Regions from separate parts of the Homo sapiens genome. Here regions 1, 2, 3, 4, 6 and 7 are each linked to region 5. The links are contacts of gene promoters, found by promoter capture Hi-C in blood cells and fetal thymus (Javierre and others, 2016). All regions are on one chromosome and are shown on one strand. Each heading gives the region's core, a stretch centred on a gene start or on the middle of the fragment in contact. The rest is flanking DNA. Distances are from core to core; before and after follow the strand shown. Region 1 has its middle 46 kb from the start of CAPRIN1. Region 2 has its middle 28 kb from the start of LINC02721. Region 3 has its middle 64 kb from the start of CAPRIN1. Region 4 has its middle 77 kb from the start of LMO2. Region 5 holds the start of ABTB2 (ankyrin repeat and BTB domain containing 2). Region 6 overlaps CAPRIN1 (cell cycle associated protein 1). Region 7 has its middle 22 kb from the start of CAPRIN1.

The links. The method cuts DNA at HindIII sites, captures the fragments that hold promoters and counts their contacts. A CHiCAGO score of 5 or more calls a contact.
Region 1: a fragment that was not itself captured here is called in contact with the fragment with the promoter of ABTB2 in region 5 in 17 of 17 cell types (naive B cells, naive CD4 T cells, M0 macrophages and 14 more); the score reaches 10.4 in naive B cells.
Region 2: a fragment that was not itself captured here is called in contact with the fragment with the promoter of ABTB2 in region 5 in 13 of 17 cell types (naive CD4 T cells, activated CD4 T cells, naive B cells and 10 more); the score reaches 11.2 in naive CD4 T cells.
Region 3: a fragment that was not itself captured here is called in contact with the fragment with the promoter of ABTB2 in region 5 in 8 of 17 cell types (non-activated CD4 T cells, naive CD4 T cells, activated CD4 T cells and 5 more); the score reaches 7.8 in non-activated CD4 T cells.
Region 4: a fragment that was not itself captured here is called in contact with the fragment with the promoter of ABTB2 in region 5 in 1 of 17 cell types (neutrophils); the score reaches 5.5 in neutrophils.
Region 6: a contact is called between a fragment that was not itself captured here and the fragment with the promoter of ABTB2 in region 5, in 3 of 17 cell types (megakaryocytes, fetal thymus and M0 macrophages). The highest score is 6.0, in megakaryocytes.
Region 7: a fragment that was not itself captured here is called in contact with the fragment with the promoter of ABTB2 in region 5 in 4 of 17 cell types (total CD8 T cells, naive CD4 T cells, non-activated CD4 T cells and 1 more); the score reaches 7.0 in total CD8 T cells.

Annotation. Positions count from the first base shown.
Region 1 is chr11:34,004,487-34,007,670 of GRCh38, forward strand. No RefSeq gene overlaps it. Among named protein-coding and RNA genes, the nearest start is that of CAPRIN1, 46 kb to the right of the region's middle. The HindIII fragment of the contact is 783 bases long and covers 1,432-2,214 here.
Region 2 is chr11:33,848,428-33,851,807 of GRCh38, forward strand. No RefSeq gene overlaps it. Among named protein-coding and RNA genes, the nearest start is that of LINC02721, 28 kb to the left of the region's middle. The HindIII fragment of the contact is 390 bases long and covers 1,854-2,243 here.
Region 3 is chr11:33,985,697-33,989,258 of GRCh38, forward strand. No RefSeq gene overlaps it. Among named protein-coding and RNA genes, the nearest start is that of CAPRIN1, 64 kb to the right of the region's middle. The HindIII fragment of the contact is 712 bases long and covers 1,609-2,320 here.
Region 4 is chr11:33,967,350-33,970,554 of GRCh38, forward strand. No RefSeq gene overlaps it. Among named protein-coding and RNA genes, the nearest start is that of LMO2, 77 kb to the left of the region's middle. RefSeq lists a silencer at 2,273-2,567. The HindIII fragment of the contact is 1,939 bases long and covers 544-2,482 here.
Region 5 is chr11:34,356,746-34,360,214 of GRCh38, forward strand. It overlaps ABTB2 (ankyrin repeat and BTB domain containing 2), which reads right to left and starts at 1,265. Exons shown (of 17, transcript NM_145804.3): 1 at 1-1,265. The coding sequence starts at 838. RefSeq lists an enhancer at 191-300 and a silencer at 1,251-1,450. The HindIII fragment of the contact is 9,392 bases long and covers 1-3,469 here.
Region 6 is chr11:34,068,263-34,071,876 of GRCh38, forward strand. CAPRIN1 (cell cycle associated protein 1) reads left to right here. Exons shown (of 19, transcript NM_005898.5): 3 at 3,464-3,526. Among named protein-coding and RNA genes, the nearest start is that of CAPRIN1, 18 kb to the left of the region's middle. The HindIII fragment of the contact is 2,206 bases long and covers 1,262-3,467 here.
Region 7 is chr11:34,028,331-34,031,874 of GRCh38, forward strand. No RefSeq gene overlaps it. Among named protein-coding and RNA genes, the nearest start is that of CAPRIN1, 22 kb to the right of the region's middle. The HindIII fragment of the contact is 909 bases long and covers 1,097-2,005 here.

The sequences.
Region 1 (3,184 bases), core at 573-3,072, 350 kb before region 5:
GGGAGCTAAGGGCCATATCACTCCAAATCTTATACTCTTAATCACTAGCTCTGCCGCCTCTGTGTTCCACCTGAGTGGAAAACTGAGTTTCACCATTTTTTCTCCACCTCTTGGCTCTGCTTTCCTCTGGAATGGCTTCGTCCTCAAGCAGGCTTTGTCCCCGGGCTGCAAAGATGGCCCTAGCAGCTCTGGGTGTGTGTGATTCTTAGCCTCTGTGATTCCCAGGAAAATGGGTGTTATAATTGTCATGGAGAGGGCTCCGGGGTAGATTCCCATGAACAGTTCTTCGCTTTGTTGTGTGAGCATGCCACTTCTCCCGTCAAGAGGTGGAGTTTATTTCCTTTCCTCCTGAACCTGAGATGGTTTCTTTGACCAACACGCATTCTGGAACTTCTGAACCCAGGCCTTTGAAAGACAAACAGCCTTTGCTTTGCTGTCTAGGAACCCAACTGCCATGCTGTAAAGAAGTCCAGGCTATGTCACTGGATGGAGGCCCCACAGAGAGGCCCTGAAGGATGAGATGCCACATGGAAGGAGGCCCATGAAGGAAAATCGAGGCACCTCAGCAGACAGTCATTACTAGGGTCCTGGACCTTTCAGCTCAGCCCAGCTGACAGCAGAATGCAGCTGTGAGTAAATCCAGCCAACGCCACACAGGGTAGAAGAACACCCTGTCAACCCACAGAATCACAAGAAATAATGCATCCTTGTTTAAAGATGCCAAGTTTGGGGGAAGACAGTTATTGCTATTGGCTTGGCATGAGTAATGTGCACATTTCTGGATATTTCATGCCCAGGAGCATGCAGGCCTCTGATTGGGAAGGTGTGCTTCACCTGCATCCTCCCTCGGCACCTTGGTGGGTACCCACAGAAATGCTAGACAGATGGAAAAAACCTGTGTCCACCTGCCTTGTGTGGTTTTTGTTAATGTGGTAGAAAGAGCAAGGACTTTGGGGTCCAAATACCTGGATTCGAATATCTGGCCATCTCTCTTTCCAATATGCCACCACGAACAGGACATATGGTTTCTCTACATCTTTCTTAAAACTAGAAATGATTTTTCACACAAGGTTCTTTTGTGGAGATGAAGAGAGATTTATTTCGTGAATATTCACCGAGTTCTTCCAATAGACCTGGCACTATCCGGTGCATTATAAGCGCTTTGAAGACAAGCTCTTTGTACTATCATTTTTTCTGAAGTTCCAAACATATTTATTGAATGAATGAATTGTGTCAGATCCTGGTGACACAAAGATAAGTGCAGAATTGGTCTCTGAAAAGTTCACAGTTAATGGTAAAGAATGTGTACAAGACTACAAAGTGGCATACAAAATTTAGTTGTTATTATTTAACCTTTTCAATGCAGTGATTCATGCACTCATTCATTCATTTACTAACTCTTCCTACTTCATTCCCAACAGTATTTGCAGAAGCTTTAAAAAATCATTCCATATAAAAGGATAAAGTACAGATGAAGAATTAGGGCAAAGGGAAAATAAAGGTTAGAACAATGATTTATTAATCTATAACTTAATTGCAACATGCTTTGGCTTTAAAGCCAAGGTACATTGCATTGTTCTTATTGAAGCATTGCCTGTTGTTTTTGTTTTTTGTTTTTTGCTTTTGAGATGGAGTCTTGCTCTGTCACCCATGCTGGAGTGCAATGGCGTGATCTTGGCTCACTGCAACCTCTGCCTCCCAGGTTTAAGCTATTCTCCTGCCTCAGCCTCCCAAGTAGTTGGGATTACAGGTGCCCACCACCACACCCAGATGATTTTTGTATTTTTGGTAGAGATGGGGTTTTGCCATGTTGGTCAGGCTGCTCTCAAACTCCTGACCTCAGGTGATCCACCTGCCTCAACCTCCCAAAGTGCTGGGATTACAGGCGTGAGCCACCACACCTGTCCTGTTTTTAAGCTAGTATCTTCACTTAAGGTAATTAAACTATCACTACTGCCAAGATTTCTAGAAGCAATAACTTCTAAGTTAGCCAACTGTAGTTTTGACATAAACACATCCTCTCAGATTTTATTGTACATTTCAATTAACTTCAGTTGGTAGGAAAGATCTTGGAAAAACTGCTTCTACTCCAGTTGGGTTAAATTGGTTGGTTCAGTCTAAAGACCTAACCATTGTGTATATGGTGATCAAATGGGAAGCAGTGGAGACTAGTAGGTAAAAACTAGGAAGGAAGCAGCTAGAAGCTGAAAACCAAGCTTCAGATTCCTCCTCTATCACTTACTACGTATGTAACCTTGAGCAGGTCACCTCACTAAGGCTGTTTCCTCATCAGTAAAATGGGTGTAACAGTAGTATTTACAACATAGGGTTGTTATGAGAATTAAACGAAATAAACTGCATAGTACATAGTAAATGTTCATAAATGTTAGCTATTACCACCATTGTAGTGGAAAGAGGATCAATTATGGAGGTGCCTGGCTTTGGGGCAGCTGTAGTTTTATTGCAAGTCTGAGTAGGTGGGTATTAATTAGGACATTCTGATGACAAGTGAAATGGAGGTAATACTGGTCATTTGAAAATTACTCATGTGCTTTTATATTTAGCTTGTCAGAACACATGACTTCCACCCTTGTCTTCCTGAGGCATCCTTTTGCCTGGGGAGATTAAAAGTGTTACAGAGGAATGCAAAGAGGAAATCCAGCTTCTGACACTCAAAAATAGGATTTTCATGCACTACTCTAGCAAGAGAGGACTGTGGATCTTCCTTTACGTCTATCTTTATTTATCAAGGTCCAGGCTAGTGAACTGTAGCGTTCCATACAGGAAGAAGAAGGAGGACAATGCTGCCCCTTCTTGGCCTCAGAGGTATTGTGGGAGGAAGAATAAAGAGAGGGGGATAAACCAAGTGTTTAAATATGGATCCCAGTCTTTCCTCTCTAGGCTTCGGCAAGAATCTTTTGCTCTGTTGTCCATTTGGGTTTCTGTTTAGGAAAGAGACACCTTGAAGGCTGTTCTAAGGTAACTAGGAGAGCAGGCACACCCGTTAAATTTGGTAGCTCAGCTGGGCTGGGCAAAGGCATTCTTTTTTTTTTTTTTCTTTTTTTTGAGATGGAGTCTCGCTCTGTCGCCCAGGCTGGAGTGCAGTGGCACGATATTGGCTCACTGCAACCTCCGCCTCCCGGGTTCAAGCGATTCTCCTGCCTTGGCTTCCTGAGTAGCTGGG
Region 2 (3,380 bases), core at 799-3,298, 510 kb before region 5:
TGAACTGTGAGCCAATTAAGTCTCTTTTCTTTATAAGTTACTCAGTCTCAAGTATTTCCTTATAACAATGCAAAAATGGCCGAATACACTTGCCTACTTTTCTCTATCCCCATTTTAACACCTTAATCCAAGCCACCATCATCTCTCACCTGGATCATGCAACAGCCTCCCAGCTCGTCTCTCTAGGGTCCTCCATGCACACACAGAGTGATCTTTCAACACACTAATCAGAGTATGTATGTCACTCTCCTGCTTAAAAGATTCCAAAGTCTTGCCACTGCAGTTAGAATAAAATCTGAGCTCATCTTCAGCCTTGTAAGATCCTACATGATTTGGTCTCATGTATCACCTTTCCTCCAGCTACTTTGGACTTCTTGATGTTCTTTAAGCTCGACAAGTGGGTTCTTGACTTAAGACTTTCACTTGCCTGTTTCTTCTGTTTCTGAATGTATGACTGAATCTTTCCTGACATTCGGTCCTAGCTCAAAGCCACTGCCTCACAAAGGCTTTCCCTGACCACGCCCTCCCTCCTCTAAAACGACATCTCTCTGCATCTCTTGACATTCTATCGCATTGCTCTATTTTATCCTAATTCATTGATCACTTTCTGAAATAAATTTGTTCATTTACTTGTGTATTTATTTATTTTGTTTCCTCCCACTAGAATGTAAGTGCTGTGGTAACAGGGACCTTGCTATCTTGCTCACCACTGTATTTCCATTGCCAAGAACAGTGCCTGGCCTTTTGGAAACGCTCAATACATATTTATTGAATGCATGCATGCATGAATGCCAGCAACTGTTCTCATTGCTTCATGTAGACTACCCATAACTTTTACAATGATATGCTAATGTAAGTATATTATCTTCATTTACAAATGAGAAGACTAACTAGAACCACATCCATTTGTCTCCAAAGATGACTCTTATACATTTACACTCCCTCCCATTTTGTTAGGTAACATTAAATGCAATGAAAACATTTATTGTTGGCAAATGCTTTTAACACTTGGTTTACATTGGCTATATTAATATTTTTGTTTTACACAGGGTCTTACTATGTCATCCAGGCTGTAATGTAGTGACACAATCTTGGCTCACTGCAGCCTTGACCTCTCAGGCTTAAGCTATCTTCCCACCTCAGCCTCCCCTCCCCCCAGTCCCTCAAGTAGCTGGGACCACAGGTGTGTGCCACCAGGCCCGGCTAATTATTTTATTTTATTTTTTGTTTATTTATTTTTTTTTTTTTTTGAGACGGAGTCTTTCTCTGTTGCCCAGGCTGGAGTTCAGTGGCACAATCTCAGCTCACTGCAACCTCTGCTGCCGGAGTTCAAGCGAATCTCCTGCCTCAGCCTCCTGAGTAACTGGGATTACAGGCATGTGCCACTATGCCTGGCTAATTTTTGTATTTTTAGTAGAGACAGGGTTTCAGCATCCTGGCCAGGCTGGTCTTGGACTCTTGACCTCGTGATCCACCCCTCTCGGCCACCCAAAGCGCTGGGATTATAGGCATGAGCCACCGCACCCAGCCCTTGTTTTATTTTTTATAGAGACAGGGTTCTTGCTATGTTTCCCAGGCTCATCTTGAACTCTTGGGCTCAAGCAATCCCTCCACCTCAGCCTCCCAAAGTGCTGGAATTACAGGCATGAGCCAGCGCACCTGGCCTAGGATTTGAATTCTGTCTCTTTTTCCTTAAAATAAGTGAGAAAGTAATTTCCAGCAGTCTGAAAATATATATATGTTATTTGGTTCTATAAAATTAAGTTTTGGGAGATAAACAAATTAATGAAGCTAGAGGCAATATAGTCTAGAATGAGATGACCTCGATGAATTAAAGTCTTGACTTTATCCCAAGCTTCAGTTTCCTCTTCTGTAAAATTAAGATAGAAATATTTGCTGTGTAGAGTTGGTGTAAAGACCATAAAATACTTAGGATAGTGCATCTACCTGGCAAATGCTCAATAAAAGTCATGTTTAATAACATTAATGGTGATAATGCTGCCAAGAATTAGAATTTTATTGCTAGAAAACTGTAAGAGACAAGTTATTCACTCAGTGAGAGGATGGGCTGGATAATTTCAAAAACTTTTTCAGCCTTCATCTAAGATTGTATTATTCTGATCAGCGCTTTTCGAACTCTGGAGTTTTTAACTTTCAATCTACCATGGATTGACACTTTTGTACAATATAATAAAAAGTGGATGACTGGGAAAATAAGAATTTAAAAATGCATACAAAATAAAAGCTTATTGTATAACAAATTGCCCCAAAACTCAGTGGCTTAAAACAACAATTATTTATCTTGTATCACTTCTGTAGGGCAGAAATTGAAGAACAGCTTGGTTGACTGATTCCAGCTTGGGGGTTTCTCACGAGGTTATATTCAAGATATAAGCTGGGACTGCAGTTGTCTGAGGCTTTGACTGGGCCAGAGGCTCTGCTTTCAAGGTGGCTCATTTATAAGATGGGCAGATGAGTGCTGGCTGGTGGCAGGAGGCCTCAGTTCCTCTTCACCACATGGAGCTCCATGTAGAGCTGTCTGAACAGCTTCAAGGCATGACAGCTGTTTTTTTGTTTTTGTTTTTGTTTTTGTTTTTTTTTCTCCAGAACAAGTGATCCAAGAGACAGCAAGGTGGAAGCAACAGTCTGGATCTAGCCTCAGAAGTCACATTCCATCATTTCAATATCCTATTGGTTAGACAAGTTAGCCCTATTCCATGTGAATGGAGACAACACAGGAGGTGAAGCCAGGAAACAAGAATCACTAGGGTCACCTTGGGGAGTGGCTACCACAAATGCTTCCTCCCAAATTCCATACTTACCTGTCTGTAAACCAAAGTCTGACTACCAAATTCCTAGAGATCATCTACTGTAAGCTCCTCAGTTTGCAAATGAGGAAACTGAGACCTACCTAAAGACACTCCACTAATTAGTGGCAAAATCAGGTTTCCTGATTTCAGTGTTCTTTCAATCACATCACATAGGCTATTTTACCTACTATATATCTATTTTGCCTGGGATGTAGTTACGGGGGGCATTTGCCTTGAGCTGCTCATTAAGTGATTTGAATGAATGGGGTGGGGTGGGGAGGCTGACACAGAGATACGGCTGTGGGTTTGCTGAGGCTCACAACAAAGCCATCTTTAAAGTGGTCATCAAATAGGATAATTCAGTGAGCCCAGTTCAAAAGCATCACAATGTGACAATGGAAATTGACTTGATTTAGCTTCAAAGATTCTATTAACTCGGAGAAATGATTTTCCGGGAGAATTAATACATGGCCACTGGTAGAGAATGGATGTGACTTCTTCATTGCTTTGAAACATCTTTTAACTCAATTCTTAGATGTACATACAAAACATTATAGCTTAGATTCCTAC
Region 3 (3,562 bases), core at 715-3,214, 370 kb before region 5:
GCGCGCGCTGCCACGCCTGACTGGTTTTCGTATTTTTTTGGTGGAGACGGGGTTTCGCTGTGTTGGCCGGGCTGGTCTCCAGCTCCTAACCGCAAGTGATCCGCCAACCTCGGCCTCCCGAGGTGCCGGGATTGCAGACGGAGTCTGGTTCACTCAGTGCTCAATGGTGCCCAGGCTGGAGTGCAGTGGCTTGATCTCGGCTCGCTACAACCTCCACCTCCCAGCCGCCTGCCTTGGCCTCCCAAAGTGCCAAGAGTGCAGCCTCTGCCCGGCCGCCACCCCGTCTGGGAAGTGAGGAGTGTCTCTGCCTGGCTGCCCATTGTCTGGGACGTGAGGAGCCTCTCTGCCTGGCTGCCCAGTCCTCACTTCCTGGCCATCCCATCTAGGAAGTGAGGAGCGTCTCTGCCCGGCCGCCCATCGTCTGAGATGTGGGGAGCGCCTCTGCCCGGCCGCGACCCCATCTGGGAGGTGAGGAGCGTCTCTGCCCAGCCGCCCCGTCTGAGAAGTGAGGAGACCCTCCGCCTGGCAACCACCCCGTCTGAGAAGTGAGGAGCCCCTCCGCCCAGCAGCCACCCTGTCTGGGAAGTGAGGAGCGTCTCCGCCCGGCAGCCACCCCGTCCGGGAGGGAGGTGGGGGTCAGCCCCCGCCAGGCCAGCCACCCCGTCCGGGAGGGAGGTGGGGGGGGTCAGCCCCCCGGCCCGGGCCAGCCGCCCCGTCCGGGAGGTGAGGGGTGCCTCTGCCCGGCCGCCCCTACTGGGAAGTGAGGAGCCCCTCTGCCTGGCCACCACCCCGTCTGGGAGGTGTACCCAACAGCTCATTGCGAACGGGCCATGATGACAATGGCGGTTTTGTGGAGTGGAAAGGGGGGAAAGGTGGGGAAAAGATTGAGAAATCGGATGGTTGCCGTGTCTGTGTAGAAAGAAGTAGACATGGGAGACTTTTCATTTTGTTCTGTACTAAGAAAAATTATTCTGCCTTGGGATCCTGTTGATCTGTGACCTTACCCCCAACCCTGTGCGCTCTGAAACATGTGCTGTGTCCACTCAGGGTTAAATGGATTAAGGGTGGTGCAAGATGTGCTTTGTTAAACAGATGCTTGAAGGCAGCATGCTCGTTAAGAGTCATCACTACTCCCTAATCTCAAGTACCCAGGGACACAAACACTGCGGAGGGCCCCAGGGTCCTCTGCCTAGGAAAACCAGAGACCTTTGTTCACTTGTTTATCTGCTGACCTTCCCTCCACTATTGTCCTAGGACCCTGCCAAATCCCCCTCTGCGAGAAACACCCAAGAATGATCAATAAAAAAATAAACTAAAAAAAAAATAATTTAAAAGGCAACAACATAACCTAGCTATAATTTCTGCTTTAAGGAAACCTAAAAATGACAAACAGAAAGTCAGCATTTTTCAAAATATGTGCTGTGAGATACTAGTTCCCGGATGTGCTGGAGGGGGAGTAAGAGAAGGGTACCCTCTTAGTTGAGAGAAATTTCAGAAGATTAATTTCCTCCCTTTGTTTTGTTTCCACACTCAGATCGTAAGTTTCTGATAATTTGCTTTTTGTGCTACTTGCTCATGGGAAGAGCATGTCCTGGGCCACACGACACAAGCTTTCCAGGCTTTTGCTTCACAGCTCAAGTTAGCCTTGTGAAGCTAAATGTCAGCATTCATGGCTAGGCATGGTGGCTCATACCTGTAATCCCAGCACTTTGGGAGACCGAGGCAGGCGGACCACTTGAGGTCAGGAGTTCGAGACCAGACTGGCCAACATGGCGAAACCCTGTCTCTACCAAAAATTTAAAAATTAGCCAGGCATGGTGGCACATGCCTGTAGTCCCAGCTACTCGGGAGGCTGAGGCACAAGAATCACTTGAACACAGTAGGCAGAGGTTACAGTGAGCCAAGATGGCACCACTGCACTTCAGCCTGGGTGACAAAGCAAGACCATGTCTCAAAAAATAAATAAATAAAAAATAAATGTCAGCACTTATACTTATATAAAAACATATGCGTATGTTCTTGTATACATATAGTGATTTAGCTGAGTAGTTAATTTAGTCATAGCAAATACGCTTAACACTTTACATAGCAAATATGCATAACAAATACGCTTAACACTTTTTCTTCTTTAAGTGGAAGGGCCATAGTGGGGGGACTTTCACCTTCAAAGCTACACTTTCTCTAATATTTGAAATTTTTACAATAGCATGTTTAATGTATATAACCTAAATATATACATATATTTAAGTTACCATATTCAATTGTAGAATTTGAGAGGTAAAAAATATTTTCCCAAAAATGTTCCCAAATGCATCTCTCAAGCTTCCACATGCCCAGACTGGCAGAAAATCCAATTTTCCTAAGCACAGCCCACCTACCTCCTTCTCTGCAAAACTCCCCTGCCTCTGCTTGTATTCAAAGCACAAGCCCTGGCTGAATGTGCTTGCCAAGTCCCTAGAATTGAAGCTTAGAGCGCCCCCTTGAGCCTTGAGGGGCATCCACAGTGCTGCCCAGCTCTTATTCTTTAATATGCAACCGACGAACGTTGACTTGGTGTAAGAGACCCTCTTGTCAATGCTGCTGCTGTTGCTCCTCCCAGTGACCTTAGAGTTCTTTTTAGAAATAGTTTCTCTCACTGAAAAATATAAAAGTCATCTTCACCAGACTCTAAGCTTTTCTTTTTTTTTTTTTCGAGACAAGTTCTCTCTCCGTCACCCAGGCTGGAGTGCCATGGCACAATCTCAGCTCACTGTAACCTCCGCCTCCCGGGCTCAAGCGATCCTCTCACTTCAGCCTCCCCACCCACCCCCCACCCCCCGGGTAGCTGGCACTAGAGGCATGCGCCACCATGCCCGGCTAGTTTTTTGTGTGTTTTTGTTTTTATTTTTTGAGACAAGGTTTTACCATGTCACCCAGGCTGGTCTTGAACTTTTAGACTCAAGCGATCCACCCCCCTCAGCCTCCCAAAGTGCTGGGATTACAGGAATGAGCCACCATGCCCGGCCTTATGTATTATTTGTTTAAACTTCACAACATACCTCGATGATAGGTGCTATTCTTCCCATTTTATAGATGAGAAGACTGAGATTTGGAGAGCTTAAATAAGGGGTTTAAGGAGACATTGCATGAATGCTCAACTTCTTGGACAAATAGGACATGAAACTCATATGGAGGTGATTCTGTCAAAAGCATCTACGCAAGGGCTCTGCAGTCTACACCTAGGATGGGCTAAGCCCAGGTTTTCCACACTAGGATGTGTGGACTTTCTGGAATAAGCAGAATCCTGTAGGTACTGATACGGTAAGTAAACACAGTGTATCATCTAAGAGTATGTATTAGTCCATTTTCGCCCTGCTATAAAGACATATCCAAAAGTGGATACTTTATAAAGAAAGGAGGTTTAATTGACACACAGTTCTGCATGGATGGAGAGGCCTTAGGAAACCTACAATCATGGCAGAAAGCCAAGGGGAAGCAAGGCATGTCTTACATGGCAGCAGGTGAGAAAGAGAAGACAGGGGAAACTGCCAAACACTTTCAAAGCTTCAGATCTCATGAAAAC
Region 4 (3,205 bases), core at 263-2,762, 390 kb before region 5:
ATATAAGGAGACATTTTAAAGAGAAAAAAAAAAAGGAGGAAGAGAGAAAGAAATTGTAGGTACAATACTTCTAGTCAAGAAGGGGGGGTCAGGCATTCACATGTAACATTTTTGTCCCTTTGGTTTTGGCCTAGTATCTTGCACATACTGTCGTTAAGAGCCAGAGAACTCCCAAAATATTATCCTCAGCTTCCAGCCAATAGCCAGAGGTTGTTAATTCTTCCCAAATGTGTTTACAACTCTCTCCATTCACGATGCTGTGGCTTTCTTATTTCAGTGTCCCCTCATCTCTTGCAGGAGGTATTGCAACACCCTCCTAACTCTTCTCCCTGCATCCAGCCCTACCTACCACACCATCCCTTCCCCAGCACATTTGCGGTGGAGTGTGCACACACGCGCATGCACACGCACCCACACACACATACACACACCCATCCTTCTTGATCCCTTCTCCAGATGGGGTGCTCTTTCTAAAATGCAAACCTGTTCCATTCACCACCTTCCTTAAAACCCTTCAGAGATACCTACTGTGGCTCAGGATCAAGCTTAAAGTCCTTAACACAACCTCCACGGCCACTCACGAGCTTGAGCCTGCACACCTCTCCAGCATTTTCTTCATTCTCCCTCTCCATGCACACACCCTATGCCCTATGTGCCAGCCACACTAAACTACTTCCATTCCCCTGAATGTGCCATGCTCCACCGACCTCAGGTCTTTGCACATGCTGTTCCATTCCTGCCAACTGCTTGCATAGCTAACTCCTACATATCCTTTAGTCTTCCCTGACCCTCCAATTCAGGACCAGGTACCCTTCCCTGACCCTCCAATTCAGGACCAGGTACCAACCTCAGGGCACTCTGTACAGCCCCCATGAGCAGAGAGGGGTTAAGGGGTGACCAGCTGATCAACCACCTGGGGCAGAAATCTACAAGGGGGAATAAAAATCACAGGAGATGTAATAAGATTAGAAAAATTTTATCTCCTAGAATCCTGTCAGGATAGTACACTATGTGGTTAGAAATAATATGCTGATAAGTCCCTCAGGGTTGGGGGTAATGTGCCCCAAGGGGCATGCCTTCCAAGGGTGTCACCTCTGTTTTACTGTGGAGTGGTTGTTTGGTCCAGTGGGGAATGCGAATTTGGGGCCAGAGTGGAATTGCTCAGAACTTTGGGTGTCAGGCCTCCTTTCTTCGCCCTTCCCTCCTGACAGGGTCCCAACATATAATATATATGTCTAGTGTATATGCTAGAAAGCTCTAGAGGAAGGGAAAGTACCACCAAAAAACTCTGGTGGGTGAGCAGCAGTCCTGCCTCCGCAAGTGCTCAGCCTCTTCCGTTTTAAAAACTGAATAAATGGCCAAGTGTGGTGGCTCATGCCTGTAATCTCAACACTTTGGAAGGCCAAGGTGGAAGGACTGCTTGAGCCCAGGAGTTCAAGATCAGCCTGGGCAACATAGCGAGACCCCATCTCTACAAAAATTGTAAAAACTAGCCAGGTGTGGTGGCGCATGCCTGTGGTCCCAGTTACTTGGGAGGCTGAAGTGGGAGGATCGCTTGAGTCTAGGAGGTTGAGTCTGCCGTAAGCCATGATGGCACCACTGCACTCCAGCCTAGATGACAGAGCGAGACTCTGTTACAAAAAAACCCAAAACTGAATAAAGATTTACAGCACATTGATTCGATAAAATTTCTATTTATTAACCTGTCCAGGTGCTCACATATTTCAGTCTGGATGCACCCATCAAAGCATCCATCACATAATAGTAACTTACCTGTGGCCCTGCTGGAAAGTCTGTACCATGATAATCATTAACATTTGAGTGGTTAATGCCAAGTGTTAATTCACTTAGTTATCAAAATAATTCCTTCGGGTGAATGCTATTTTCACTCCCGTTTTATAGTTGAGGAAACTGAGGCATAACAAAGTAAAGTAATTGGCAGGGCTGGATTTCAAACCCAGACAGTCTAGCTCTACCTGGTGCTCCAACCAGAATGATACACTCCCCCTTAGGATGGGACTGAGTCCTTTTACCTGAAACAGCCTCTGCAGCCAAGCACAGACCTAACACACAGAAAAATTTAATAAATGTTAGTTGAATGAATCTTCAATTAGTAGAAGACTGTTTATTCATTTCTTCAGTAAATATTTATCAAGTGCCTTCTATGTGGCCAGCACTATTCTGGGCACTGGCACAAAGTGGTGACAAGACCGCTGCAAGCCTGAGTGGCCTCTTGTTCAGCCTGACACACGATGCAGAAACTCCTTCTCCCACATTCCCACCTGATGGCCATCCCACCTCTGGTTCAGGAGATGGAAAGGCGATTGCTGTTAGATTCTTGTTTGTTTAAGAGACTGGCCTTCCTTGGCCTTCCACTTGAAGAAGCACAAACTTGCACTACAACCTCATGCCTATAACAGCCTTTTACATCTTGCAAGATAGTTCTAGCTCCTTCAGGTCTTCTTTATTCTAGGCTAGACTAAGCTTCCTCAGTTCCTTCATCAGTTCATGCTCTGATTACATTTCTGCAGGAGACAGCTTTCATTTACTTACTCATCCATTCATTTAAACTTTGCTTGCTGGGTGTGGTGGCTCAGTCTGTAGTCCCAGCACTTTGGGAGGCCAAGGCAGGCAGATCGCTTGAGCTCAGCAGTTTGAGACCAACCTGGGCGACATGGCAAAACCCTGTCTCTACTAAAAATAAAAAAATTAGCCAGGTGTGGTGGTGTGTGCCTGTAGTACCAGCTACTCAGGAGGCTGAGGCAGGAGGATCTCTTAAGCCTGGCAGACAGAGGTTGCAGTGAGCCAAGATCGTGCCACTGCACTCCAGCCTGGACCACAGAGCCAGACCCTATCTCAAAAAAAGCTTTACTAATGACTTACTATTAATATGTACCAGGTACTTTGCTAGGCCCTATGAATACAGAAATGAAGGGCATGGTTTCTTCCCTCAAGAAACGCATGGTCCACTGGGAGAATGAGGCATTTAGGGAAATAATTTCAACATTTCCTAGGTGACAAGTATAATAGAGATACAGTTATACTGAGTAGAACCACTCAGTGCTACAACTAGACTTTAAGCCGGCCACTCTGGGATCATTCAGTGTGGCCATGTTTATCTTGCATAGTGACCACGAGAATGAAAAGAAGAGCTAGGAAATAAATATCTCCACTGTCCTGATCTGAGTGTTGTCATTTAAAGGAT
Region 5 (3,469 bases), core at 15-2,514:
CGCCCCAGAGCTCGGCGTCGTTGTTGATGACCATCTCCAGGGCCTCAGCAGACACCTCCCCGCCTCCGGCCCCTCCGCCATCAGGGCTGTGGCTGGCCATCACCCTGGCCCGGATCTCCTCCACCAGGTTCTCCATGCAGGCGGTGAGGGAGATGGCTGCGTACTCGTGGATGCGCACGGAGATTCGGGTGTCCACCATCCAGCGGAAAAAGCGACCCACTGAGAAGGTGAGGCCGCAGCGCGCGGACTTGCCCCGGCGCAGCCCGTCGCCGGCGCTCATGCTGTACAGGGACAGCGCCTTGACGGCTGCCAGCGCGCAGCTCTCGGCCAGCGCCCAGCTGTGCACCAGGCGCACGGCGCTCTGCACCTCAAAGCGGGTGCACTTGGCGTGCAGCACGCTCAGGCGCTGCGCCTCGCGGGCCACGCGGATCAGTGCCCTGCGGAGCAGCCCGGCCAGGCGCCTCACCGCCTCGGCGGAGAACTGGGGCAGCCGCCGGCCGCCAGCGCCTTTGCGGAGCACCCGGGCCACGTCTCCTTCGGTCCAGGGGAACTCCTCCAGCTCGGGGAGCCGCGGACAGCGCGAGAAGAGGTCGGCCACTTCGGGGTCCTCGGGCAGCACCGTGTTCACCGTGTCCCAGCTGTTGTGGCGGCTGTTCATGGAGCCGGAGTAGCACCACCAGGCCGCCCCGCGGTGCTGCTGCGCCGAAGAGTTGAGCGCCTGCGAGTTGGACTTGGAGGACGAGAGGCTGAGCGAGCGGCACGAGTCCCCGGCCCCATACCCGGAGTCCAAGGTCAAGTCCTCCAGCGTCTTCAGAGTCGAGCTGTACGTCCCGGCCATGGGGAGCCTGCCGAGGGCGGCGTCGCCGAGCGAGGGGCACTCACAACTCCATGCCCTCTTTCCCAAGTGGGCAGAAACAAGCTCTAGGCCCTCCGGGCCACCCTCCTTCCTCTCTGCGTCGCGGGGCTCGGCGGCCGCATTGCCTGCCCGGAGGCCGCGGGAAGGTGGCCGAGATCCGTGGCCAGCAGGAGCCCCACGCTCCCGGCGTCCCGACTCGCAGCTGCCACTGGAAAGAACCCCGTCGCTACCCCCCGGCACTCCCCCTTGTCCACCTCTAATTCCCACAAGCAGAGAGTCAGTCCTCCACAGAGAAGGAATCCCGGGAGAACAGGGCGGCGGCGGCAGAAGGAGGAGGCGGCGGCGCAGGGCGCAGGGCGCAGCGCGAGTCCGGGACCAGCCGGCGAGAAAGCGCTCTGCAAACTTCTGCGCTGCGCCGGCCGGCAGCACAGCTGGGTACCCGGCTGCGTCCGACATGCAAATAACCCCGGGCGGCTTACCAATCACCGGCCGCGATGGGCGGGGCTGCACCAATGATCTCCGAGGGGGCGGTCACTATGCAGATTTCACTCTGCCTCGGGTTAAACCCCGCGGCGAAGGAGGCGGGGCTGGAGGCCGAGGGTCGGGCACGCGGCTGGGATGGGGGTGGGGATGGGGGGGGATGGGGGGGATGGGGGGGTGGGGGAAGGGCGAGCCAGCCAACTGGGAGGTGGAGGTGGAGACCGGAAAGCAGCGGTCGAAACGATAGCTCCGGAGCTCACGATTTAAAGAAAAATGCAAAGGAAAAGCTACAGGGCGCTGCCACCTTCCCGCCACCCAGGCTTTGGGCGTTCGCTGCTCGCTTTCGAGCCCTCCGCAGCCAGGCGTCCTGGGGTTGGGGCCAGGAGAATGGGGAGGGCCCCATCCAGGCGCTCCACCTCTCCTCCACCTTCCGCCAGGCCCCTCCCGCAATCCGAGATGAAACGCTGGCTGTGTTTGGAGGGAGGAGGGAGTCCCTGCCTCTCTTTCCAAGTCCGTCTGGTTCCTTTGCGCTGCCGTCTAGGCTCCAATAAGGACAGAATTTCTTAACCTGGTATCTGATCAATGGACGGGCCCCAGGAAGCCTGTGAGTGCCTCCGCCCATTTGTGGTTTCACCTGCAGTTTTCTGAGTGCCACTATGGGGAAGGGGCACCAACTTTTGTCAGATTCTCAAGAGGATCCGTGACTTCCCTGTTACCTCTGTGTGACGATACCACTTGCTGTCAGGTGGGTCCTTTTTGTCCGAGATAGACAGTGTTCTTACAGGAAGAATGAGAAGAAGGTGGCAGAGCAGTCCCTCGCCCTGGGCTGAGCTCGGAACACCTAGCTGGATGCAGGTGTTCGCCTCCTAACGCGTGCCGGTGGGCGAGCCGTATGCCCCCGCGGGACCCAGTTCCTCCGGGGTACAATGAGTGGCTGACCTCCAGGCAGCGCCAGTGCCAACCTGCCTCCGGGCGGGTGTCCCAAACGGTCCGCCAGAGCGCTGTTGGTTCAGCAGTCCCATGCCCGGTGCAGGCATGTCCCGCCGCTGCCCTGTGGCTACTCACACGCACGTGCGCAAACGGACCTGTGCCCCCTCCAGTGGAACCGCAGGCTCAAGGCGGGGATTGTGCATTCGCTCTCCCCAAGTCAGCCTCCCCCACTCCTGAATGGCTCCTTTGTGTTGCATTTTACACAGTTCTGACCTTGGGCCGTGAGTTGGATATGAACTAGAAATGTCTGGTTTGTCTCTTTCCTTCTTAAATTAATGGCCTTTACCCCCGGTGAAACTGCTTTTTATTTGGCAGTTTCGCTTAATTTTGCCTTTCCGCGGGTCTTTATTTATGCAACATCGCCGCCCGATGGTTAGAATTGGGAACAGAGTCAAAGATGGAAGTACTGTAATACCAAAGACGCAAGTCAGCAGAGATCAAACTAACAAAGGAGAATGCAGTCACACTTTACAGACGTGAGATTAGAAATTAAAGTAGGCAATGAGGTCCAACTTGTCAAAAATACAAAAGTAAATTTTATGCAATTTAAAACTTTATTGGGGAAATATAATATTAAAGGCAATGTCGCCCTCTAATGGATATATTCAAAGGAAATGAATTTCAGAAAGGTTTCCCTGTCCCCCCTTTTCTTCGTTGTGCGCACCCATCAAACCTAAAGAGAATTACTTAACTGGAAATTTACAACGGGGAACTTACTGAATGAAAGGTTATTGGAGGAATCATCTGGAGTGGGAAAAAGAGCCTATGGGATTTATATTAATATATTCAAATTACTTGATGACTTAAAGTGTAGATAATCAAACATGCCTCCAACTGAATCTGAGAATCCTGTGAATGTTGACCTGCAACATGAAGATATATTATGCAAAATTCAGCCATGGGAAATGCTTCTGAACAAACAACTGAGTTTCTTTAATAAATAAGTTTCAAGGAAAGAAAGAGATGGAGAGAAGACCTACACATTTAAAGAGACTTGAAAGACATAATAACCAATTACAAGGTGTGGAACTTATGTGTATTTTGAATTTGTTTTAAAAAGCCAGTAAACATTTGACATTATGAAACCATTAGGAACACTGCCTCGATGTTTGCTCTTAAAGAATAACTGTTTTTTTTTTTTTG
Region 6 (3,614 bases), core at 1,115-3,614, 290 kb before region 5:
TTGGATCACCAGCAAACAAGGCAGAGATAGATTGCTTTTATGACTCAGCCTTGGAAATCATACAGCATCACTTATACAGTACTCTTGGTTGAAGCTCACTCAAGTACAATGGCAGGGGAAGTAGACTAGTTGTTAATGGAGTAGTGCCAAGGTCACATTTTAGAACAGTATGTGAGACTGCATGCAGATTTTGTAGCTATCTTTGGAAAATGTAATCTGCGATAGCTCTCGGTTTGGATGAATTCTAAATTTGTTATTGTGTAGAAAATTGGAGGTTTTCTACTCTAGGATAGCTTGTCCTACTATAGGATAGTATAGGTTCATAATTAAGGATTGTTATTGGTGAGAGTCCTAACAATGTACTGAAGTCTGTCAATTTTAGTATCTTTTCTGTTGCGTGGAATTCTTATTGTTTTCATTAAACAAACTATATGTTCATTGCACAGTAGTTAAGTGTATAAAACAAAGCAAAAGGAACACAGCTCTGGCTATAATTTTACCACTCAGGTACCATTCTTACCTTTTTCATTGTTTATCTTTTTATATTTATTTTCATCGCTACACAAACATTTTTTAGGAGTTTGATTCTACCTCCATTTTGGTTAGATATACAAACTCTACCCCATGAGGGATGTATGGTGTATTTCTAGATTTAGCAACAATTTTCTTGAAAAATGTACAATACTATAGAAAAATGAAGATAGTAAATACCAGGTATAAGTTAATAACAGTGTTTCTTTTGTTCAGTAATAATGAACTGTGTACTAGCACTGAACTTTAGGCCCTCCTATTTGCGTATTTTCTGTTTGTATATTTTTAAATAGAGGAATTGTGATTATAATATTATTATTTTGGAATATCCTAAATCATAAATTCAAAACTTATTTAGTTTTTTTTTTTTTTTTTTAAGATGGAGTCTCGCTTTGTCCCAGGCTGGAGTGCAGTGGCATGATCTCAGCTCTCTGCAACCTCTGCCTCCCGGGTTCAAGCGATTCTCCTGCCTCAGCCTTCTGAGTAGCTGGGATTACAAGTGCGCGCCACCATGCCTGGCTAATTTTTGTATTTTTGGTAGAGACGGGGTTTCACAGTGTTGGCCAGGCTGGTCTTGAACTCATGACCTTGTTATCTGCCGACGTTGGCCTCCCAAAATGCTGGGATTACAGGTGTGAGCCACCGGGCCTGGTCTAGTTTTTTATTTCTTAAAAATAGCCTACCCTTTAAGCAAATAGAATTTTTTATTTTAAAAATTTTTAGCTTCCCAAGCTTATGAGTCTTCCCTTTTCTTCCCTTTTAAAAAAGAGAATGAACTATCTGTTGATCCTCAGAGTATTTTGTGAGGTAATTGGACACATCTTCTGCACCTGGGGTCAGGTCTGTCATATCAGTGTAAAAAAAAATTTTTTTCCCTCAAATCAGTAGACTGAAATTTTATACCTGTTTATTTGGAGGCTTATAGATGGTGTGAAATAGTTCATCTAATAATAAAATTGGGTACTATTAAAAGCCTTTAATGTCTTAGTGATTATCTTGGTTTTATTTACCTCCAGTGTTAGGAAGGAATTGTGGTAGGGTTTTCAATTTGGGGTAGAATGGCTAGGCAAGTTGACATTTGTTTATGGTACAAAGAAAATAGATCATTTGACCTAAAAAAAAAAAAAAAAAAGAAAAAACAAAACTTATTACCATTGCTTTTAAACTGGCTTCTGTGGTTTCTGAATGCCCTTTATTAGAATTTAACTTTGTACTTTGTTTCACAATTTTATTATTGGTAAGGGGGTAAGGAACTATGTATGTTCATAATTTATTGGGATTAAGTGTTGTCCTGTTAATTTAGATTTATCCTCATTCACTGTCCTCTTGACCTTTACAATAATAATAGTTTGTGACTCTGTTGCATTACCTGAATATCTGTGGGGTCTTACTTAATAGTAGCCTGGGAAACCTGCAAAGTTTTAATCTTAGCAAGAAAATGGGATCTTAAACCAGATGTTAGTTTTCTGTCCTCACCCTTGAACTAACAAAGCAAAGCTGTTGACTTGTGTATTAGTGAGGTGGTAGCTATCTTGTTCAAGATAAATGGATGAAGTACATTAAAGACAATATGCCCATGAGTTTATTCAGAAAAAAAATACTTTTTTTCCCCTTGGGGTGGGGAGCAGCATCTCACGCTGTCGCCTAGGCTGGAGTTTTGGCATTATTTCAGCTAACTGCAGCCTTCACCTCCAGGGTTCAAGTGATTCTCCCACCTCAACCTCCCAAGTACCTGGGACTACAGTCTCGTACCACCATACCCAGCTAATTTTTGTGTTTTTTGGTAGAGATGGGGTTTCATCATGTTGGCCAGGCTGGTCTTAATCTCCTGACCTCAAATGATCCACCCACCTTGGCCTTCCAGAATGCTGGGATTACAGGCAGGAGCCACCGTGCCTGGCCCGAAAAAATACTCTTTTTTTTTTGGATGCAAAATTTCACTCTTGTTGCCCAGGCTGGAGTGCAATGGTGCGATCTCGGCTCACCGCAGCCTCTGCCTCTTGGGTTCAAGTGATTCTCCCGCCTCAGCCTCCTGAGTAGCTGGGATTACAGGCATGCACCACCATGCCCAGCTGATTTTGTATTTTTAGTAGAGACGAGGTTTCTCCATGTTGGTCAGGCTGGTCTCGAGCTCCTGACCTCAGGTGATCCGCCCACCTTGGCCTCCCAAAGTGCTGGGATTACAGGTGTGAGCCACCGTGTTCAGCCTAAAAATACTCTTATATCACCTAGTCACATGAATTCTTTGGGGAGAGGGAGAGGCAAAAATTTAACTTGATAAATGTCTGATATGCTCACTTGGGTATAAGCAGGATCCTAACCAAATTGTGGCCCTTACCCATGTGGGTAGGAGCCATATGCCTAGTCCATCTAATACTCTTTCTTGATTAAGCTAAAGAATGAATAATGTTGTGCCATTGGTTTACAGTACAGCCTTTGATATCATTCAGCAATGGTTGGAGTATATCTAAAAAGTTTTATGTACTTAGGCTGGGCGCGGTGGCTCATGCCTGTAATCCTAACACTTGGGGAGGCCGAGGCAGGTGGATCACCTGAGGTCAGGAGTTTGAGATCAGCCTGGCCACATGGTGAAACCCTGTCTCTACAAAAAATACAAAAAAATTAGCTGGGCGTGGTGGTGAGTGCCTGTAATCCCAGCTACTTTAGGGGCTGATGCAGTAGAATAGCTTGAACGTGGGAGGCAGAGGTTGCATTGAGACAAGATCGTGCCATTGCACGCTAGCCTGGGTGACGAGCGAAACTCTGTCTCAAAAAAAAAAAATTTATGTACTTAAACTGGAATATATCTTAAAAGTTTATTTAAGTCAAAATTTGAGACAAACTTAGAGGATTGTGAGGGTTTTGTCAAGCATGCTTAAGCTGGTATATACCTTCAAAACGGAATGTAATTCTTTTTTTTCTTTTAACATAGGGTAAGCTTGATGATTACCAGGAACGAATGAACAAAGGGGAAAGGCTTAATCAAGATCAGCTGGTAAAGATGTTATATTTTTTATTTTAGACCTAATGCTCACTATTTTAAAGACAAAAATTAATTCTGTGGTTTTTTGTCTTTCCAGTAA
Region 7 (3,544 bases), core at 301-2,800, 330 kb before region 5:
GGTGGACTTGGGTGACCCTTACAAAGCACTTATGATAGGAAAGACCAAAAAAAAAAAAAAAAAAAAAAAACAGAAAAACTCCCCATGACGATAGGAAGAGCCTGAAGATCCTGAACCAGTGGGTTCACTTCTGCCTCATGCTAAGGAAACTGAAGGTTCTGGGTCGTGCCTCAATGCCCTTGAAGGGAGGCTTCAAGAGTTGACACTGAGGAGCTATGCAGAGGGAATGCAGGGTGATCTTGGCTTAGAGCACCTTGAGGAAATGACCAACAGCCCTAGTCCAGGCTGTAGCCTGCCAGAGTTTCAGCAGGCATAGAGGCCGAGTGCCAGGGTGACATTGTTGAGCAGAAACTTCTCTTTACAGAACTCAGATTTCAACTGAGTGAGCTGGCAGCATCCAAGAGCAGATGTAGCAAACTCCAGGCTCAGGCACTTCAGTCTGGCTTCCAGCTCCAAAGCTTTGAAAGCCAAGCTGTGTTAAGGCCCCAAGTTCTAGAAGGCTTTTGGCTCTAAGTGAAGTTTCTATGTTAGATGAGATTTGTTTTCTATAAGTAGCAGAAGTTTAATTTTTAAAAAGGAGGGGGAAGAGGAAGAAAAGGAACAGGAGGAAAAGATAGTTTCCTTGGTCTTTAAAGACCAACATTCAGGGCCGGGGGCGGTGGCTCACACTTGTAATCCCAGCACTTTGGGAGGCCGAGGCGGGCAGATCATGAGGTCAGGAGTTCGAGACCAGCCTGGCCAACACAGTGAAACCCCATCTCTACTAAAAGTACAAAAATTAGCTGGGCGTGGTGGTGGGCACCTGTAATCCCAGCTACTTGGGAGGCTGAGACAGGAGAATCACTTGAACCCGGGAGGTGGAGGTTGCAGTGAACTGAGATCATGCCACTGCACTACAGCCTGGGTGACAGAGCTAGACTCCGTCTCAAAAAAGAAAAAAAAAACAAAAAACAAAAAACATTCAGCTGGGCTCAAATCCAGCACCATGACAAAGAGCATAACATTTATCTTAAAGCAGAAATGGAAAGGCAGTGAGGGTTCTCACATAGTCAGATCTCGGTAGGTTGCCAAAGGGCGGTGTCCCAGTATACAGGAAAGCTTGCCACCAAAGCCAGAGGTAGGGATATAAAGGTGGAAACTCTTTCCTAAAGGAAGAAGCCACTTTAAAATGTAGCATTTTAAAATAATTGTTTTCTTGTCCCTCTAAATTTTAGGCCCAACATCAGACAAAGCCTCAGTTTACTCTGATCTAAACTGTAGCTCTAGATCATGTAAACTAAGCTGAACATGTAAACTCTCCAAGTCTCCATGTTCTCTTTTTGGTAAAATGGAGAGAGTAACCCGCCTCACTGGGTCATTGTAGAGATTAAATAAAAACATATAAGCCAGGCATGGTGGCTCACACCTGTAATCCCAGCACTTTGGGAGACCAGGGCAGGTGAATCACTTGAGTTCAGAAGTTCAAGCTCAGCCTAGGCAACATGGCAAGACCCCGTCTCTACAAAAAACACAAAAAATTAGCCGGGCATGGTGGCACGCCTGTGGTCCCAGCTACTTAGGTGGCTGAGGTGGGAGGACTGCTTGGGCCCAGGAGGTAGAGGCTGCAGTGAGCCAAGATCGCGTCACTGTACTCCAACCTGGGTGACAGAGTGAGACTCTGTCAAAAAAAAAAAAAGAATAGAATAGAAAAGAAAACATACAAGATGTGTTCTTGGCACAGAGTAGGTGGTCAGTAAATGGTGGCCATAATTATTATAAGAAAGTACTTGACCTTATTGGGTTTATTTCTTTTTTTCTCTACAATTAGCAATTGCTTTATTAATGATTTCTGCAGAGAATCTATTGAGGACGTTTTATCAGAGTAGTTACCTAAGACTTAAGAATAACAATCCATTTTGACATGTAATCCTACATGGGTACCATCATTCATCTTTTTTATATTACTTAAATTTCAGGCATAGTGTGTGGGAAGAAATAAATAGCCTCTGAAGGACTGTGCAAAGCAAGCTTATAAAGACATGTGTATTTTAGGGGAAAAAAACTGCTCCTGGTGATTCTGATTGTGCCCATAAATATTTATTTAAATGAATGGATGCCTAATTCCCTAAACTCCACAATGGAGAACCTCTGGGAGTATATTCAAATTCTGTTGCCAAGCTCTGCTTACTTGCCCTAATTTCCAGTTAACTTGAGCATGCATGCCCAGAGGGCACATAGTACTATACTTTTAGACCTTCTAAGACTCATGAGGCAGATATTTTATGTCCTGGTAAGTCCCTGGCTCTGTAAGGACTTGCCCTGCACTAGCCCCGAGCAAGGTTACACACAGGTATTTCTGAGTGGCCCCACTGTTTTTCCATAGCCAATTAAAGGGGGGGGGGCAATAAAAATCTAGTCTTATCTTGAGAAGTAACAGAAGTGAAGTTGGTTAAGTTGGTTTTGTTCTTTTCCCTTTTTTTTTTTCTTTTTTTGACAGAGTCTTGCTCTGTCACCCAGGCTGAAGTGCAATGGCACCATCTTGGCTCACTGCAACCTCCACCCCCTGGGTTCAAGCAATTCTCCTGCCTCAGCCTCCCGCCCAGCTGAGGTTACAGGCGCCTGCCACCACGCCAGGCTAATTTTTTGTATTTTTAGTAGAGATGGGGTTTCACCATGTTGGCCAGGCTGGTCTCGAACTCCTGACCTGAGGTGATCCACCCAACTCGGCCTCCCAAAGTACTGGGATTACAGGCATGAGCTACTGCATCCAGCCTGTTCTTTTCTTTTTAAAAAAAATTTAACATGCAGGGCTGGGTACAGTGACTCATGCCTGTAATCCCAGTACTTTGGGAAGCCAAGGCAGGAGGACTGCCTGAGCCCAGGAATTCAAGACCAGCCTGGGCAACATGGCAAGACCATGTATCTATTTTTTTTTAATTAATGTGCGCACAAAATGAGTGCAGGGAGAATTATCCCAAGTTGTACTCTCTTCATGAGGACTAACAGGTTAAGTTAGTATCAACTTTGGCTCATTAGCCTCCTCAGAAGACCTTGTAGAGTTCTTTGTACCCCTCTAGGACATTGGTGCCAGAGGAAGATTCCACCTGCAGTCCTCAGAGAGTTGGCTGCTCTCTGACTCCAAATGCCACCCCTTTCCCTACTGCAGTTCTAACATTCTGTTAGGATTGAACCTCCAGCATGATCGTGACTCCCATTTGTGTTTGTTCCTGAAAGGGCACACATGACTTGTCCCTCTACTAGCAGGCTAGCAGCAAACAATGGCCACGAGTGATTTATGGGCACGTATAATTTTCCCTGGGAATTTCACAAATGTTAGGAAAGAGAGAAACCTGAGTGATAACATACCACCTTCAAATCAAGTAAGTCAGGGTTTGGAGCTTTCCCAGAATTCAAGCCAAGTATCAATGAGATTATTCTTGTAAGAGCATCCCAATTTTCAGTTCTACAACCCCTTTCCAAATACTTTCAGAGAAAACACTGGAAATGATTGGAATCCCTGCTAGTCAATCCAGTAAGGCCTTTGAGCATCAAGATGAGGTGTACT